Regions from separate parts of the Homo sapiens genome. Here region 1 is linked to region 2. The links are contacts of gene promoters, found by promoter capture Hi-C in blood cells and fetal thymus (Javierre and others, 2016). All regions are on one chromosome and are shown on one strand. Each heading gives the region's core, a stretch centred on a gene start or on the middle of the fragment in contact. The rest is flanking DNA. Distances are from core to core; before and after follow the strand shown.

Region 1 (4,916 bases), core at 5-2,504, 4.5 Mb before region 2:
GCTCGTATCAACGCAGTGGTGTTAAGTTTGTTCCTATTTCAGGCATTCCAGAAAACAGCTGCAAACCCTGAGAGATATGGCTGGATTGTTGACCTCCTGGAGTAGTTAGGCCTTTATTTTTAGTTGCAAAGTAAGCTTTCCCTTTGGGACTATACTTAAACACATTTCTAAACTGCTCTTCTGGGACAGTTAATTATGGAGAACATGCTTGACTTCTCAGTGTTGGGGCTAGCATTCTATATGCCTTCCACCTAGTCCAGTGTTGTTGTTGTTTTGTTTTTCTCCTTTATTCCAATAATAGTGGGAAAAAAGATTCATGGAGGAGGATAGACAAACGTTTGTTAAGGGATACACAAGTACAACTAGATAGGAATAAATTCTAGTGTTCTATAGGATAACTATTATTAGGAGTATAATTAACAACAAAAATACACAATTTGTTGTATATTTTCAGATAGCTAGAAGAGTGGATTTTGAATATTCCTAAGACAAAAAAAATAAGGTGATGAATCTACTAATTATTTCCCGACTTGATCATTACACATTATATACATGTACCAAAATGTCACACTGTACTCCATAAATATGTACAATTATGTGTCAGTCAAAAAGAATAAAAGCAAAACATCTTGAATGGTGTTGCATATCCTTTGTTATAGTCGTTATAACTTAGCTCTTGATCACCTTGTAATTTAAAAAAGTAGGTCTGGGCGTGGTAGCTCACGCCTGTAATCCCAGCACTTTGGGAGGCTGAGGTGGGCAGATCATGAGGTCAAGAGATCCAGACCACCCTGGCCAACATGGTGAAACCCCGTCTCTACTAAAAATACAAAAATTAGCTGGGCGTGGTGGCGCACACCTGTAGTCCCAGCTTCTCATGAGGCTGAGGCAGAAGAATCGCTTGAACCCAGGAGGTGGATGGAGGTTGCAGTGAGCCGAGATGGCACCACTGCACTCTAGCCTGGCGACAGAGCAAGACTCCGTCTCAAAAAAAAAAAAAAAAAAAAGATAGTAGTACTGTCTTATACAAGAATAACTAACCTATGGTAGATTAGTGCTATATTGCTATATAAATAATTCATATCTGTCATGTGATTTCCATTTTGAACTGCCTACAGATAGTGTCCCTCAACATTTTAATCTACTTTTTTTAATCCCCCGACTCTTCTGCTTCAGTAGGAAAAATTCGTTTTCTTTCCCTCTAGATTATCATCTGATGCCATCAAACTGTCTGTGTAATTTAATCAGTCTCTTAAATCAGCATTGTCAGTTACAGAGAAGCCTTGAGACAGATGATTGGAAGCGGGTATAGATCTGAGCAGTCGTTACAGTCTGATATATGGGATGAGAACACAGTGGATCTGTGTTTGGGTACCTCCACCTCTTTTTGAGTGCATGATTGTACCTGCATTAGTTATCAGGTATGCTGTTAGTTGACCCGACAGCCCCATTGGGATTTGGAAAAGAAAAAAGTTTATAGCCATTCAGTTGAAGTTTAAATTTAGGGCTCGAAATTGTGTTGATTCAGTCGTGACTTCTATTTTTCCTCTTAATGCCTTTCACTTCTTCTTTTTTTTTTTTTTTCCTTTTTAAAGAGAGGAGGTCTGGCTCTATTGTCCAGGCTGGAGTGCAGTGGTGTGATCCTAGCTCACTGCAGCCTCCAACTCCTGCCTCAGCCTCCTGAGTAGCTGGGACTGCAGGTGCAGACCACCAAGCCTGCATAATTTTAAACAGTTTTTTGTGGAGATGGGGTTTTGCTGTATTGCTCAGATTGGTCTTGAACTCCTGGCTTCAAGCGATCCTCCCTCCTTAGCCTCTGAAATTGCTGGGGCTTGCACTTCTGGTCTCAATGTTTATTTCCTGCTTCCCCCCCTCCGCCCCTGCCACCCCATATAGTCCTGCCTTTTCTTGAGTGCTCTCTTTCTCCATTTTATTATTTTTCAGTATTTCCAATCTTTCCTGTTTATTTTTTCATCTCTTCCTTGTGCTATACTATTGCTAATTGTGCTTATGTACTTGTTAGCTGTGAAGGAGTGGGAAATAGAATTATGGATGGTTTATTCTGACCACTCCATTTTAGTCTTGACACATAGACCTGACTTGTGCCTACTTCCTTGCAAGTTGATCATACTTTAGGCCAGGCTTGGATACTAGTATTAGCCTTGACCCTGTCTGGTGTTTTTGCTAGCTCCTACGTCCTTTATGATTCCCTCTCATCATAAAATATGAAAATTAAGTAAATTGAAGGTGTTCAATATCTTGTGGTCTTGACTTTTTCATTTTAGCTGATCGTCGTGTGTTGCCACCCATTCATGTCAAGATGACTAAGTTTGGATTTTTGCGATTGTCCTATGAGAAGCAGGACACACTTTTGAAGCTTCTCATTCTGTCAATGGCTGCTGTATTATGTGAGTGTGCATGTGAACCTCTCTTTCTTTGGGGATAGAAAGAAGAAAGTCTAGAAAAAAATTGAAAATCGCTATCTTAAAATGCCTTGTTCTTTTTAGCAGATTGTTACATTTTTCCATTCCTCATTAGTATAATTTTATGAAGGCAAAATAAAAGGAATATAAAAGTCAGGGCTATGGGCCACATGCAGTGGTTCACGCCTGTAATCCCAGCACTTTGGGAGGCTGGGGTGGGTGGATCACTTGAGGCTGGGAGTTTGAGACCAGCCTGGCCAACATGATGAAACCCTGTCTCTACTAAAAATACAAAAACTAGTTGAGTGTGGTGGTGGATGCCTGTATTCCCAGCTACTTGGGAGGCTGAGGCACGAGAATCGCTCGAACCTGGGAGGCAGAGGTTGCAGTAAGCCGAGATTGCACCACTGCACTCTAGCCTGGGCAACAGAGCAAGACTCTGTCTCAAAAAAAAGAGGGCTGTGATCATCTTTGAAAGAATGGGAAGCATGCTGTGCCAATTCTGTTTTCTCATAGGGTTGAAAGTGATATTGGGGACCCTTGGATAACTGATTTTTGTAAAAGACAATTATCTTCAATTTAGATGTCTCCTATAGTATTTTTGAAAGTCTCTTGAGAGTTTACTCTGTATTTTAGATTTTCTGGCTCTTCATGAGTCCTAGGTGTAATTTTGCTTGCCATACCTATTACTTTGCTCCAAGGTTAAGGTTAGTTATGTGTGTATGGTGGGGGAGTCAGCGTATATAAAAGATGACCATGTAAGTTGAGTTTGGTATTAGTAGGTGAATGTAATGTTATAGGCTTTTATAATTAGTTAACTGTGACCTATGAAAGTGGAAAATGTAGATGCCATTGTCAGGGGAAAGTAAACTTCTCTTGTTTCCTTTATGTGGGGAAAGATGGATAAAGACTTTATTCAGGGATTATTTTATATTTTCTGTGACCTCTCTACTGGATAATACTGTCTTCATTATAATACTATATCTGCTGTTCTTTCATGGCACATTACCAATAAAATATTAACTCTCTGGTTTTTGCAGCCTTCTCCACTCGTCTGTTTGCTGTCCTGAGATTTGAAAGTGTTATCCATGAGTTTGATCCGTGAGTACCTTTGCTTGATCTGGTATTATTTCCTTTGGGAGGCATTCAGGTTCATGGGTTTCAGATTCAAATTTCAGTCAGCTCTCAGTGATAGAGATGTGCTTTCAGTACATTTAAGGGAAAAAAAAACCCTTAAATTCTTCCAAAGGAGATAATTATCTCCTTTTAAGACGTATGTGTTGGAGTCCAGCACAGTGGCTCACACCTGTAATCCCAGCACTTTGGGAGGCTGAGGTGGAGGGATCACTTGAGCTCAGGAGTTCAAGACCAGCCTGGGCAACATGGTGAAACCCCATCTCTACAAAAAAAAAAAAAAAAGTATGTGTTGGAATTGACCAAGTAAGTCTCTGAAACTCAAAAAATGTGAGAGGCATTGCTAGTATGTCTGCCTATCACTTAAGATCTGGCTAGGCTAAGAGAATTCTGGCTGCCCAGTTTGGTAAAAGTTTGTGATGCAGATTGAAGGAAAGGGTCCTGGTGTGTATTCCAGGCTCAGAAGAGAATCACAAACAATGGACTTGAGATTCATGACATTTTGCTGTTTGTTTGTTTGTTTAGCAATTTATGTGATAGAAATTGGGCTTCTTAGTTAAATTCTAGGGCAATGAAAAAACTCAAAGTTATCAGTTTGATAAGGAATTTTGTTCATTAGATGAAAAAGATATAGTGGAATTCCTTAGTGGTATTAATAACTAGTATTTACTAAGCATTCATTTTGTTCCAAGCACTAATTTACAGATTATCTCTAAATCCTTTCAGCAACCCTTTGAGATGTAGGTACTATTATTCCCTTCTTAGAAATGAGGAGACTCCACTGGGCACGGTGGCTCACGCCTGTAATCCCAGCACTGGGGGAGGCCAAGGCGGGCAGATCACAAGGTCAGGAGTTCGAGACCAGCCTGGCCAACATAGTAAAACCCCATCTCTACTAAAAATACAAAAATTAGCTGGGCATGGTGGCATGTGCCCGTAATCCCAGCTACTCTAGAGACTGAGGCAGGAGAATCGCTTGAACGCAGGAGGTGGAGGTTGCAGTGAGCCAAGATCATGCCACTGCACTCCTGCCTGGGCTACAGAGCAAGGCTCCATCTCAAAAAAAAAAGAAAAAGAAAAAAGAAATGAGGAGACTCAGGCTGGGAGTGGTTATCTAAGGTTGATTATTCAGTACGTGGAGGAACCGTGATTTGAATGTTGGTTTGTCTGACTCCAGAGACTGTAGTCACTGTGTTATATTGCCTAAAGTTAAGGCTTATAACAAATTTGGAGGGCCAAAATCATAGGTTCTTGAAATATTATTGGTATCTTAAAAATAGTATATTCAATCTTGTGGAGTATTGATTGAAAATGCCTGCATCTATTTGCAAATTTATAATTTTGTTTTGTGTAGATATT
Region 2 (4,862 bases), core at 80-2,579:
ACATCCCTCTGAGCAATCAGAAGCGATATTTCAGCCGACTGAGCCGAGGAACAGTGAAAACGCTTCCAACAGGCAGATGTTGGGGAGAGGACATTGCAGGCGCAGAAGAGTGTTAGGAAGGGCTGTGAAATGGAAAGGTGTCGTCTTGGAGGAATCGGGCAGAGCCAGTTTACCCACAGGGAACTGGGCATGTAGGGGAGAGTGGTGCAGAATAAGGCTGGAAAATCCCGAGTTCTTACAGGCGCACTCGTCTACTCCGCGGACAGTCTCTTCCTTTCTATTGTCAGCGTCCTGGGGGTAGGGTTGTGTTATGCATTTAGTTGAACCTGAAGGGACTAGTCCAGGTCTCTCAGAAGGCAGTACCTAACTCACAGGCGACTGAAAGGAAACAAGGCCAGCGGAGCCCTGGCGGTGGCGAGGCTGTGCCAATTGCTAAATGGGGCAGCAGGACGTTTTTCTCTACTGAAGTGGCAATGCCGCGGAGCAGGAAGGCAGAGTAGCAGGTCTCCCGCTAGTGCGTCTCAACCGAAGAAGCGGCGTGATCTCTTCCTAAAACACACGAGGAAGGGGGCCTGGGCTGTGAGGCCGGCGTGGTTCTTGCACCCCTGGTCTCTATCCCTGCCTGGGCAACTGCTGGGAAGGAAGGGTCGGCAAGAGGCCTAAAGACCGGAGGCCAAGGGTGCGGAGCGCGGCCGGACTCAGAGGCGAGGACCCGGCGGAGAGGCCTGGGCGGAGCAGGGCGGGAGAGGCGCGCCCTGAGTAGGGCTCGGGGGAGGACGATGGCTGCCTCCTGCGGTCCTCCCCCTGCCTCGGGGGACGGCCCTTGGCAGACCGTCCCGGACTCCTAATTCATCCTGTTTTTAATAAAACCATTTCCAGAATCAAAAAGAGGGCGGTACCCAAAGGAGTCTGAAGAATGCCCAGCAGGGGCAGGGGAGCGGGGCGTGCCCGTATCGGGAGGCTGAAGGCTGACGGACCAGCGCAGCAGGGACAGATAACCGCGCCGGGGGGCGGAGGCCAGAGCCAGCCCCGCGCCCACAGGGTTGCGGCCCCAGACCCGCCGCGCGCACGCCCCCGCGCCTGGCGGCCACAGGGTCCGGAGCGGGGGCGGGGCCATCCGCGGCCGGGGGCGGGGCCGGGCGGGGGGCGCGCGGTTGGACCGGGCGGGAGGAGCAGGCTCTTCCATCTCCTGATTGGGTCTGGACCGCAAGGGGGCGGGGTCTTGAGGGGTTCTGCGGGCCGGCATTGGGAGCCGCAGAAGGAGGGCGTGGTAATATGAAGTCAGTTCCGGTTGGTGTAAAACCCCCGGGGCGGCGGCGAACTGGCTTTAGATGCTTCTGGGTCGCGGTGTGCTAAGCGAGGAGTCCGAGTGTGTGAGCTTGAGAGCCGCGCGCTAGAGCGACCCGGCGAGGGATGGCGGCCACCGGGACCGCGGCCGCCGCAGCCACGGGCAGGCTCCTGCTTCTGCTGCTGGTGGGGCTCACGGCGCCTGCCTTGGCGCTGGCCGGCTACATCGAGGTGGGGACCGGGCGAACGCCGGAGAGTCGTCTCCTTCGCCCGCCGGAGGAGCGCGGACTGCGGGCGGGCAGCGGGGTCCGCGGCAGGGCGGGCCGGCGGTGCGGCGCCGGGGGTCCGGCTCTGCGGCGGGTCTGGCGCGCCCTCCCCCGCCCGTCCCTGCTTGGCGCAGTGCTTAGCGCTGGAGGTCGGGCTGCCTCAGCCGCCGCAGAGGCCAAATGAAAGGCGTCGGGGCTGCTGGGGGCGGCCGTCCGCCTCGGCCGACCCAGCCCCCAACCCGCCCGCGGCGCCGCCACCTCCTCCGGGGACCCAGTGCCCCCGGGCGCCCGCCCCGCCCTCCCCCGGGACAATGCCAGGGCGCTCCTCTCCCGCCGGAGTCCGCGGCTGGGCTTTCTCCAGGGGCGGCCCCGCGCGGACCCCGTACGCTCCCTCGCGCGGCACCGGGGCCTCGGCTCCGGGCCTCCCACCTGCGAGCGGCGGGCTTCGCCTTTGTTGCCAGGTGGACGCGGCCCCGGCCTTCGCGCGCGGCAGGGATGCTGCGAGCCCCGGGGGAGCTCCCGCGCCAGGCCGCCCGCTGCTCCCTCTGCCGCCTGGGGCCGGGTCGCGGACGCGCATTTTTTAAGTGGCGCTGTTTGCCTGCGTCCGTAGACCGAGGAAACCCGCTCTGGGTGCGTTGACCGCTTTCGTGAGGGTTTCAGTGAGTAGGGAAGGTGCCCGCGAAGGCGTGTAAACTGTTGGAAAAATCGTCCTCTTCGGGTGTCAGAATTCCATCAGTGGTTGTGCTTCGAGGTCGCACCCTGAGCATCCCCGCTGCGAGAAAGGCGAAGCGGCAGGGCCGGGGGTTGGGGAGGCCGCGGGAGGGGGCGGGGGCGGCGGGGTCCGCGGTGCGGGCCGGAGCGGGCAGCCTTGGAGGAGCCCTGCTGTGGCCGAGGGAGACGGCGAGCTTGATCTTTACTTCCCTTCTCGAAGTGGTGCTTGAACTGCTGGTCTGGAATGTGTAGTTCTGGTGTCGTTTATTTCTTCTCCCTCTTCGCTCTTTTAAAAATTACAACTGGTTTCTGCATACTTAGCTAATTTCAGAGAGACCTGAAGACTGGATTTGATTGGGCATTAATTGAGAGCTTTCTTTTAAAGACCTCAGGTTTAGAATATATTTACTTCTACAGAATGTTCAAGTATTTCCACGGGTAAAAATAAATCTAATAAAAAGCCTCTCTGATGGAACGGCTTAACACCTTTGTATTCATCCAGTTTAAAGCTTTGTGACTGTGAGGGTAAGAAAGGAGTTCAGCTTTAAAGAGAAATAGTTAACGTTTATCTACAGAGGATTTTGGATTGCGATTGTTTCAGTGTGTCCACACAATGGTCAGAGTTGTATCTGTGATCCCTGATATGTCGCATGAAAACAGCTAGGTGAGTGAGATGGGAAGAAAAAATAAAGGCTTTCGTATGGAAGATGGGACTTCACTAGTGGGTCGGGTGTCAGAAACCATCGTTCACACTCGCACTCCACTTCCCACTGCTATGACTAATTTGAGGCATTAGTGAATTCACAGTAGAAGACTCAGCAGTTTTAAAGAATTCGTTAATACTTGTGTAGCGGGAAAAAATAATATGAGAATTCATTGTTGTGTGTTAAATTTGATTGTTAGCCACAGCGTTGTTCAGTTGAAAAGTATGGTTGAAGAAAGTAGGAATTAAACATTTCTGAAAAATGGTTTTATGGTAACTCCTGTTCTTTGGAGCTGTATTTTTGCTCACACTTACTAAATGATCTTTCAAGGGGCCTTTTGTCAAGCTATCAGAATTTTATTCATATGAATATAATTTGATTTTGTTTATTTGCTGTCAGGCAAGGGACTGTCGAAGCTTAATTTAGATGAGAGTGGCCTAAATCAGGATGTCTTTGGGAAGGCCCTGATTGAGATTAGCGAAAGGGATTCTGGCCAAATCCCTGATCAAGTTGCTTGGCACAGAATTATTGATTGGCAAATCTTTAGTGTTGCTTGGTGTTGACTGAATTAATCTCTTACACCTGTTTAAAAAGAAAAAGCTCACCTCTGGACTCAGGGTCACTTCCTCTCTTAAATCCGAGACAAGTTCTCCTGTGTGCATGCTCCCATTTGGGACTGAGACAGTATTGTGCTGAAACCCCGCATACTGTGCAGTGGATGACTAGGCTCCTGAGAACCGGAACTTGAGTTTGTTCTGTCACATTTGAAAGAAAGAAGGCCATTTGATTGCCAGTTTTCTGGAAACTCAAACCCAAATTAAAGGATGTCAACTGAGGCAGAGTAGAGAAGGCTTTGTGTTGGTGTTTCTGACAGGTGGTATGGGAGATGTGTAATTGTACCTTGGAGAGAAACCTTGGTGTGCTTCTGATAGGAATATCGTCTTTTTTTTTTTTTTTTTTTTGATACGGAGTCTCGCTCTGTCCCAGGCTGGAGTGCAATGGTGGGATCTCTGGGCTCACTGCAACTTCCGCCTTCCGAGTTCAAGCGATTCTCCTGCCTCAGACTCCCAAGTAGCTGGGATTGCAGGCGCCTGCCACCACGCCCAGCTAATTTTTGTATTTTTAGTAGAGACAGGGTTTCACCATGTTGGCCAGGCTGGTCTGGAACACCTGATCTCAGGTGATCCACCTGCCTCGGCCTCCCAAAGTGCTGGGATTACAGGCGTGAGCCACAGCGCCCGGCCCGTTATTTTTATCATAACTATGTTTTAAAAATCTTTTGATAAATACGATAAACTTCAGTTTTATCAATTAGTTCCTCCTTTTGTAGAGGGAATTTGTTTTACCATCTAAAGCCAGGCTTTCCCAGGGTGTAGCCACAAGCCACATGTGGTTATTGAGTCTGTAGGGTGACTAGTGTGAATGAGGAGTGAATTTTTCATTTTATTTAATTTTAATTAATTTAAGTTTACATTTAAAATCTGATTCAGTGGTTGGAAAACTTTTAACTGAAATAATTTGGTTATGCGAATTTACTTTTAAACTGTACATTTTATGAAATCTAAATGTAGATCAAGTATTTCCTATGAAAATTTAGCTTCTGAATTGAGATGTACTGGAAGTGTAACATACACATCAGATTTTGAAGATTTAATACAGAAGAATTAAAATCTCAATTTTTGTATTGACTAAATTGAAACAATACTTTAGACATGGGCTAAATAAAACATTAAAATTAATTTCACTTGTTTCTTTTCACTCTAATATGGTTCCTAGAAAATTTAATACTATGTATGTGGCTCACATTGTATTTCTGTTAGATGGTGCTGATTTAAAATTTTGCTTAAAGTTGGTCCTGCATATGTTTTTATTAGCAGAATTTTTTAATATGTTC

The links. Contacts are between HindIII fragments. The CHiCAGO score rates a contact against its expected background, and 5 or more counts as called.
Region 1: a fragment that was not itself captured here is called in contact with the fragment with the promoter of APLP2 in region 2 in 1 of 17 cell types (total B cells); the score reaches 6.7 in total B cells.

What each region holds. Positions count from the first base shown.
Region 1 is chr11:125,593,596-125,598,511 of GRCh38, forward strand. STT3A (STT3 oligosaccharyltransferase complex catalytic subunit A) reads left to right here. Exons shown (of 18, transcript NM_152713.5): 2 at 2,286-2,408; 3 at 3,464-3,524. The coding sequence starts at 2,321. Among named protein-coding and RNA genes, the nearest start is that of STT3A, 3.2 kb to the left of the region's middle. The HindIII fragment of the contact is 2,242 bases long and covers 134-2,375 here.
Region 2 is chr11:130,068,565-130,073,426 of GRCh38, forward strand. APLP2 (amyloid beta precursor like protein 2) reads left to right here and starts at 1,330. Exons shown (of 17, transcript NM_001142276.2): 1 at 1,330-1,518. The coding sequence starts at 1,414. LOC107984432 (a long non-coding RNA gene) reads right to left here and starts at 1,085. Exons shown (of 2, transcript XR_001748444.2): 1 at 900-1,085; 2 at 1-549. RefSeq lists enhancers at 21-521, 522-1,022 and silencers at 939-1,168, 1,559-1,688, 1,759-2,218. The HindIII fragment of the contact is 4,769 bases long and covers 1-2,771 here.